Regions from separate parts of the Homo sapiens genome. Here region 2 is linked to region 1. Evidence: promoter capture Hi-C in human tissues and cell types (Jung and others, 2019). All regions are on one chromosome and are shown on one strand. Each heading gives the region's core, a stretch centred on a gene start or on the middle of the fragment in contact. The rest is flanking DNA. Distances are from core to core; before and after follow the strand shown.

Region 1 (4,691 bases), core at 2,050-4,549:
ACTGCCCCAATCTGATTTATAAATCATTTGGTTCTTCCCCAAACCCTTTAAAAGCCATTCAGATCACCTTACACTGCCCAGTAAAATGAATCATATTTATCTGTAAAAAAACACACATATCTAAATACACTTTTTTTCAGCCCTGATCTGGCTGGTTCTTATTTTAAAAAATGCATTAGAAGAATATGCTTGTACAGCCTCTCTGTACCTCAGTTCTCTCACCTGTAAAGTGGTATAATAACAGTGCATATCTGATAGGGTCATTTTGAAGCTTAAACCAGAAAATGAATGTGAAGTTCTTAGAAGAACCACGAGCTCTTATTATTATGTGTGGAATTTATAAATAAATGTAATTTTGAGTAAGTCAATCACTTTAAACACATTTCTTCTTCTGGGAAATAGAGATAATTTTATTTCTTCACAGAATGGCAGTAAGAATCAAATGAGTTAACAGTGCATGGAAGTTATTTCCAAAGGTTCTTTACAGCTCCTTTGTGAGCTGAAAAGAACTATTTAGAAACTGGGATTTGTATTATTGTTACCTAAAGAATTACACAATGTTTTAAAGACAGAACCAAAATTTTTCAAAGAAGAGTCTTCAATGACTGACGCAAGCATGGCCTTGCACTTCTTGCTTAACCTGCCAATGCTGGACATAAAAGACAACAGATTTCAAAGGTCTATGCAGAACTGGAATTCTCTCATCTAAGTAAGACACCAGTGTCCATACCATCTGGAACTTACAGGGAACTTAGGATGTACATTGATGCTGGTTGATCCTAATTATATTGCAAAATCTATGGAATTCAAGAGCCATAAAGAATTTTTGAAATCATTTATTCCAACTCCCTCGTTTTATTGATGAGGCAACTGATGCCTATGGATCCCAAGCAACCAGCCCCAAATCACATATCAAACTAGTAATAAACAACTCAAGTCTCCTAATTTGTAGATTATAGGCTTATGTAAATTTTGTTTATATCATGTTTCCTGCCTTTTTAGGGTGGCCTTGGGTTCAAATTCCAGTTTCACCATTTATTAATTCTGTCACTTTAAGTGACTTACTGAACTGATGCAAGTCTGTCTCTTTCTTTGCAAAATAAACATCATAGCATCCTCTTAAAAGTTTACTGTATGATAAAAAGAGGTAATGTCTCTAAATCAGGTAGCAAAGCATGTGCCTGACACCTGCTTCACCACTCACCAACTTCTTATGGTAAATACTGTAACGTTTTAAAAAACTAAATCATGCATAAAGATCAAAACCATATTTTAAAATATCTCTTAAAAAAAACACAACAACTAAGGTAACTGATATGTGTGAATTTCTTTTGGTACCGAAGTGGTTAAAAAAAAATCCTTCCTTCTGGTTTAAAGCCTGGCTGTCCCAGTGCTCTCTTTCCACATAATATGCCCTTCTCCGCCAGGCGGTCACGTATGGCAGGGTATATAGTAAAGCAGTGTACAGCACAGAGCTGTACTATATCACATGTTTGCTTTCGCACCTTTGCACCTCTCCCACCAGGTACTCTGAGGCTGCCAATTCTAGCTGCTGCTTTTACTCCTCTTCCTCTCTTTGCCCAACCGCTGCTTTAAGGATGTGTCTCGCCTGAGAACAGCTCCCTTTATCAACACAAGACAGAAATTGCTCCAGAGTGACCTGGGCTCTGTCTTCCTCAGGGGGCCAGAGTCTTCTTGTCCGAGTACCTACCTGACAGCACATCTCCCCTGGCCAGCATCCACCTCCTTGTCCTCCACAACCCACTCAGCGGCTAACCTGGCCACCAACTAACTTCTCGCCCTCGGATCCTCGCGTTTATAAAAGGTGCGAGACGACCAAGTTCTACAAGGTGGGGCGGGCAGGCACCCGCACTTATCCCCTGGCCCTCCCCGCAGCAGACACAGGGACCAGGTCCAAGCTTCTTTCCTCCGGGGACAAAACTTGGCTGTTTATCTTTCCCAGGGCATCTTCGTCTCTCCCCGGGACGTGGAACCCCGATGCACCGGCAGGGACAGCCCGGAGCGCTCGCAGGAGACCAGGCCCACGGTGGTGCCATGGTTGGGCACACTCCGCGGGCTCCGCCCAATCTCCACCCCTAGGTCCAGGTCCCCCTAGGAGAGCTAGGAGCACATTTCCAGCCTGGAGCAGGAGCCCGGCACCGGAAAGTCAGAGCAGCGCACTGCGGCGCCCCAGCCACTGCGGAGCCCCTGGCCAACCGCAGTTACGTTCCATCTGTCGTATCTACATGGGAATACGGCGACAGGCACCCTATCCCCTCACGTCAGGGCTAGCAGTATGAGGTGGGGAAAGAGGAAACCTCGAGAGTTAAAAGCGAGGGAACTGAAAGTCCCCTTGAGGGGTGTCCCCCATGCCCCTTGTGGGACAAAGCCCCAATTCGCAGGCTACCCTCCAGAGCTCCAGCGGTCCGGTTCTCCCCATCAGCACCCTCTGCGCACACTGACCCGCGCGTCCCTCCGCAGCCTGACCGCCCGATCCGCCAGCCACCGGCGCGGGCAGCGAGGGGGTGTGTGCGCCAGATTTTCCGCGTGCCCCCCCGCCCCTCCAGCGGCTCCCTCGCCCTGCAGCTGCTGCTCCGGGCGCTGTCCGCGCTGGGCAGGCCGCCCCCGCGTCCCGCCGCGGCGGCCCGGGGCCCGTGCGCGCTCACCAGATGGCCATCCTGCTCTTGGGGTAGTCCAGCCGCTCCAGGCAGCCGAGGAAGTGCGGCAGCGTGTGCGCCGCGTTGCGGGCGAGGACCGCCACGAGCACCGTGGGGCTCTGCAGGGGCGACTCCGGGAAAACCACCGGCTCCTCTCCGTCGTCCTCCGAGTCCCGCTCGGCGACGAAGCGCGCTCGGCAGCCTTCGCGGAGCAGGGCTGAGGAGAGGAGCAGTAGCGACCAGGCGAGGGTGGCAGCAGGGCGCGCAGCCATGTTCCGGGCCGAGGCGGGCGGCGGGGAAGTCCTGGCGCGAGCGCCCGGCTGGGCTGCCTGAGGGCGGCGGCGGCTGCCGGGGAGCAAGGGGCTGCGAGGGGCGGCCGGGGGATGCGGCTTGCCGCGGCCGGCCGGCTCACACACTGGCCTCGGCGGCTGCGGTTCCCAGGACCCTCCCGCCGCCGCTGCACCGCCCAGGCCCCAGTGCGGGTGCGCAGCGTACCTGCAGCCGCTGGCGCTCCCCTGCGCCTCGGGCTCGCAGACAGTAGTGGCCGAGGGGCTGTGTGCCCTGAGTCCTGAGGAAAGTTCCTCTAGTCCAGGTTCCGCTCGTACAGCTGAGGTCTGTGGCCTTCCCTAGAGCCGCGAGTTGTGGCCCTGTCTGCCAATGAGCCTGTGAGTGTGTGTGTGTGTGTGTGTGTGTGTGTGTGTGTGTGTACATAACGGTACAACCCCAAGAAAATTTATTCTGCTTTTGCAAACCGCAGACTGAAGCCCTTCACAGTGATGCAATGTATCCAGTTTTCATAATGCACCTATTGACTGAGTAGAGTTCTAAAATGAAAAGTCTCCCCAACTATTCACGATTATGACAAACACTTGTTTAACCACCGCAAAGGCAGCATGTCGCATTTTCTTATATACTCAACTTCTGAAATTCATTCTTGACTGAGTAGACACCTAATAACACAAAGTTTGAAGACTTGGAGAATTTTGGAGCCAGATCAGACCCCGCAAAATAAAAGAAAGCCCTTGGGAGACACTGTCCTGAAGCCTCACTCTACTGTGAACCCAGTAAGCCTCCTCACAGGAGGGCTGTGAAAGAATAAATTCACTTAGCTGGTTTTCTTTTTCCGTAATAAGCCAATATGATAGAGTAACAAAGAGGGAAAATTCGCGCATGTTGGAGAGCAGAGAAGAGATAAGGAAGAAAAGAAGGGGTGAAGGAAGAACACAATTAGCACATAAAATGAAACTGCTGGCATACACTGCTAAAGGAGATTTACTTTTTTTTTTTTTTTTTTTTTGAGACAGGGCCTCACTCTGTTGCCGGGGCTGGAGTGCAGAGGCACGATCACAATTCACTGCAGCCTCGACCTCCTGGGCTCAAGCAATCCTCCCACCTCAGCCTCCCGAGTAGCTGGGACCACAGGTGTCCATCACCACGCCTAGCTAATTTTTTTTTTTTTTTTTTTTTTTGTAGAGACGGGTTTTCACCATTTTGCCCAGGCTGGTCTGGAACTCCTGGGCTCAAGTGATCTGCCCAACTCGGCCTCCCAAAGTGTTACGATTACAGGCATCAGCCACCATGCTCGGCTGGATATTTAGTTTTGAAGATATATTGTGTAGCCTTTGATAGATAAGTATGGAGGGTGTTTTGGTGCCAGTGCACATTCATGATCTCCAATCCCAACTCACCCTCAGGTCTGTCCCATAGTCTTTTTATTAGTTGTTATCAATCCTTCTCAGCAACTATTAGAAGTCTTCCCTACTGTCTTTTGAAGTATATCACCTCCTTCATCCAGCTCCCCCAACACCACTGTCTCCAACTAGCATCCCTACCAAGACCTTTCTTACTTGCAGGTGCCTCCTCACGACAGGGTCTTTGATCACAGACTAGAAAGGGAGAGGTCTCCCTTTCTAGCCCATGATTTTTCTCTATCATTCCACTCTCTACTGAATCTTCAACTGATCTCTATCAACTCCTTTCTCTCAAGCTAAATACTTGGTCAGTCTTCTCTTATCCGTTAAAAAAAAAAGAAAG
Region 2 (4,601 bases), core at 56-2,555, 210 kb after region 1:
ATTCTTAAGTTCTCAGGAATGACTGCTGCCACATTTTAGTCAACTAAGGGCTACTGTCATAGTCAGAGCTACTTTTTCTTTCTTTCCTATCTCTTGCATTGAGGTAGCAAGTATAATTATAGAAGTCATAGAAAGCCAACACAATAGAATTGTTCTTGTTAAGTATTTTTAGAAGGCCTCCTTAACATTTTGTCTTCTTTTTGTTCATTGAACTTATCTTCCCTTACATAAAATATAGTTGTTTAAAAGGAAGAAATGAAGGAACAATTTGTGAATATGCAGGGAGTCCATAGATGTCCCAGAATCCACAGGGCACCATCTCTCCTGTCTTTTCCCTCTATCTCTCTGACTTCCTTTTGCACACATTCTCACCCACCCAACCTTTTAGCACTATCTCTGTAAAGTCTAGCTCAAAACCATAGCCTTTCTCCTTCCCCAGATACCCAAGCCCAGAGCAATCCTCTGAGCTCCTGCAACATCAGGACTATAACTCCATTAGCCTTTAATTGCCAATATTGAGTATGAAATATCATCTTTCTATGTGCATATCTGTCTCCCTAATAGATTATAAGTCTCTGGAGTGCAGAGATCCTCTCATTTGCCTCTTTACACACTTTGTGCATATAGTAACTGGCCTTTGATTAATTACTTCCATGATAAGCTTGACCCTTGTTCTCCCCGGCTAAGCCCTAGAGGTCACCAGATACTTACTTTGTGGCTAATCTCTGGCCTTCCTGCTGTTTACAACCAGGCTTCCTTCTAGCTCTAGAGGATCTTACACAGTACAGAGTCACTGAATAAGCTACTTTCTTTCTTAATCACCTCATTCATTTCATTTATTCTTCCTTGTATTTACTTTGTGGCTAATCTCTGGCCTTCCGGCTGCTTACATCCAGGCCTCCTTCTAGCTCTAGAGGATCTTACCATAGTACAGAGTCACTGAATAAGCTACTTCCTTTCTTAATCACCCTGTTCATCTCATTTATTTCTCCCCACAGATGAGCCACTCTTTCTAATTTGTATCATATTTATTAACTCTCTATCTTCCAGTAACACAACACACACATCTTGAGGCTACACAAAGTCTTGCTAAATGGGATACACTACTACTCTCAGAAGGAAATCAACCACCATAAAAGTTAATGTGCTCACCCCATAAAGAAAAATCTTCCTGACACACAATGGTAGCTTGAAAATTGGTGTATTCATTTTATGACCTCCTTTATTAGCCAGAATGATGCCTTGTTTGATTTCTAAAATTTGTTTAGGATCATTAGCAATGGGCTCCTGGGTGTCACTGACAACTTATACATTAGCCTTGCACACAAGTCCTAGAAATGAGACCAAGGAAACCGCAGTTTTTATTCCTTCTAGGGTATAATTTTTTCTTTCTCCAACCAGTACCTGAATATTTCTCAAATAATTTATATTTTCAGATTTTACAAACATCTCAGCAAGACTATATTAGTTTATTGACCCCATTTTGCAAAAGGGAAGGCAGTTACCAATAGTAGGAGGCTTTTTGGGGCCACGATGGTTTCTTAGATGAGTCAGTATCAGACGTGAGCTCTAATATGACCCTATCTAATTTCTTTTCTCTATTAGGTAGTTTCCTCTGTCCTAAAAAAAAAAAGTAGGAAGAGAAGTATACTAGCTTGCCCCTCTTGTGTGCCTCTGGCTGTCAGAAATAGAATTTGAAAGAGTAGATGAGAAAATGTGAGAAAACCCGTTTACTGATAACTGTTCCTATCTTCTCAGGTTTTTTATCTCTGGCCACAAAGAGTGATTGGGAGAAAACATACTCCAAATAAGTTTTTCTTTCAACTCCTCCTTAACTCTCAAGGCAGTAATTGCCACCCCCTGCCCTCCCTCCCCGGCATCACCACTCTGCTAATACAAACGTGATATTTTACCTTTGCTTCTAGCTTTGGTTCTTTTTAGCAATAATATGTCTTGAGTGGAATGAGATTTTTTCTTCCTTTTTTTTTTTTTTTTGAGACGGAGTCTCACTCTGTCACCCAGGTTGGAGTGCAGTGGCAAGATCTCGGCTCACTGCAAGCTCTGCCTCCCACATTCACGCCATTCTCCTGCCTCAGCCTCCTGAGTAGCTGGGATTACAGGCACCCACCACTATACCTGGCTAATTTTTTGTATTTTTAGTAGAGACGGGGTTTCACCATGTTAGCCAGGATGGTCTTGATCTCCTGACCTCGTGATCCACCCGCCTTGGCCTCCCAAACTGCTGGGATTACAGGCGAGAGCCACTGCACCTGGCCTTTTCCCTCCATTTTTAAACTTTTATTATTATTATTATTTGAGATAGAGTCTTGCTCTGTCACCCAGGCTGGAGTGCAGTGGCGCTGTCTTGGCTCACTGCAACCTCTGCCTCCTGTGTTCAAGCAATTCTCCTGCTTCTGCCTCCAGAGTAGCTGGGATTATAGGCGCATGCCACCAAGCCTGGCTAATTTTTGTATTTTTAGTAGAGACAGGTTTTCCCCATGTTGGCCAGGCTGGTCTTGAACTCCTGACCTTAGGTGATCCATCCACCTCAGCCTCCCAAAGTGCTGGGATTATAGGCATATGATATTTTAATTGAGCATTTCCTATGTGCCAAATAATGTGGTCAGAGCTTATTTTCTAATAAGGGAGTAAAATTTGCATTGTTAACTATGCTAGTAATACCTTCTGGGCTACAACAACATTGTTATCAGTTTCTAGCTACTTAATGATGAGGTCAGATTTGATAAGTTCAGGAGTTGTTTGAACTTCAGAGAAGGTTGATCCAGTGGCTCAATGTTGTCCGCAATGAGCAGATTTTTCTGCCTTTCATCCTAAGGCTGTCATCCCCATCGTGTCAATGTGGCTGAACTGCTTCAAGCTTTACATCCACAAAGCAAACCATCCAGGAGAGATATTTTTCTTGTCAACCATTTCAGAAAAGGCCACATAGCCATCGCTAAATCAATGACCATGGCTAGGCAGTGGGGGGTGTTGATCAGCTGAAGCAAATGAGAGCCCATCTCTAGAACTTTGGGTGAGAAGAGCTTCTTCCCAGATATATAACATAAGGCAGGAGGGAAAGGTGAACACTTGAACAATAATGTAGGATACTACTTGGAAGAGATGGGGAGAGGGGTTAAAAACATCTAGGTAGGCAACCAACAGACCAAACGTCTCCAATACACATCCCTATTTTATCATATCCCAGGCCCCAGGCCAGGCCTTATCACATCATCCTTGGGTTACCTGAGAATTTTCCAGCTGAATTCACAAATGCCTCTTCTCTATTTGGTCTGTATTCATTTACCTAGGAATTTCCACACTTCTCTCTGATAAGTTACCTACTTTTCATCTTTACTTCCTGTATTAGTCTGTTCTCATGCTGTTAAGAAAGACATACACGAGACTGGGTAATTTAGAAAGGAAAGAGGTTTAATGGACTCACAGTTCCACATGACTGGGGAAGCCTCACAATCATGGCAGAAGGCAAAAGAGAAGTGAAGGCATGTCTTAAACTTACATGGCGGCAGGCAAGAGAGCATGTGCAGGGGAACTCCCCTTTATAAAATCATCAGATCTTGTGGCATTTATTCACTATCATGAGACCAGCATGGGAAAGGCCCGCCCCCATGATGCAATTACCTCCCACCAGGTCCCTCCCATGACACGTGGGAATTTTGGGAGCTACAGTTAAAGATGAGATTTGGGTGGGGACACAGCCAAACCATATCACTTTCTTTTCTTTGACATGTCCTGGGATTCTGTTTGCCTTCCAGTCCTCTTTGCAGTAGAGATTAGACCTTCCCTCCCCTACTGGTAGGATTATTCCTCAATCTCCTTTTTCTGCTTTTTATTTTTTTTTTTTTTGCAAGCTTTCCCCAGCCACCTGTTATTTCCACCTTCCCTATGGTACTCCCCAAACACACCCTTCCATTCCTACTCATCCATCAAGAGAAAATGCATGTGATGAAGTCCCATGTTCACATCCCACAACACAGATAGATGGCACCAACAGTAGATGCTCCATATTGTATAGGCGAATGTAAATTGACTTGTGTTTATGCTTCCAAAATGGATATGGTATGTTTCTTTCACTTTATCCCCTTTACACTTACAATTTGACCAGCACTGGCTCAAAACTTTATTTCAACAAGTAAGCAAATCACCAAGAACTCCAGTGCCTAAATCTTGAATTTAGCAGCTCAAACCAGAACCACCAATCTCATAGTAAAACCTAGTCCCATGAGAATCTAATGCAACTTGGGATATGAAAATTATCTTAGTATTCAAATAGCCTCCAGGAGTTGAGATGCTTATCTGATTCTCAAGATTGGAAGTTTCCCCCCTTAGGATCTCAGGATTTGATGATCAGATGTAAAAATCTCTGGTAATTTTGGAACATATTTTGGGCATTTTTTTCAAAACCCGTTATTATTATTATTATCTAGGATATGCTCCATCCAGATACTCCTCTGGTTTTGGGTCACTTCAGCCAGTGAGTTTTTCCTAAGAACTCTTCCCCATCATTCCAAAGCAGCTCTCAGAAAAATCTCTTTTAGAAACGTAGTTAGAAATGATAGGAGCCATCATAAAGAACAGAT

What was found. Contacts are between HindIII fragments. The study calls those that stand out against the background at their distance.
Region 2: a fragment that was not itself captured here is called in contact with the fragment with the promoter of COLGALT2 in region 1 in 2 of the 25 tissues and cell types used here (heart right ventricle and mesenchymal stem cells).

Annotation. Positions count from the first base shown.
Region 1 is chr1:184,034,429-184,039,119 of GRCh38, forward strand. It overlaps COLGALT2 (collagen beta(1-O)galactosyltransferase 2), which reads right to left and starts at 3,300. Exons shown (of 12, transcript NM_015101.4): 1 at 2,667-3,300. The coding sequence starts at 2,929. RefSeq lists a silencer at 3,023-3,112. The HindIII fragment of the contact is 4,544 bases long and covers 1,096-4,691 here.
Region 2 is chr1:184,241,921-184,246,521 of GRCh38, forward strand. No RefSeq gene overlaps it. Among named protein-coding and RNA genes, the nearest start is that of C1orf21-DT, 140 kb to the right of the region's middle. The HindIII fragment of the contact is 4,140 bases long and covers 1-3,375 here.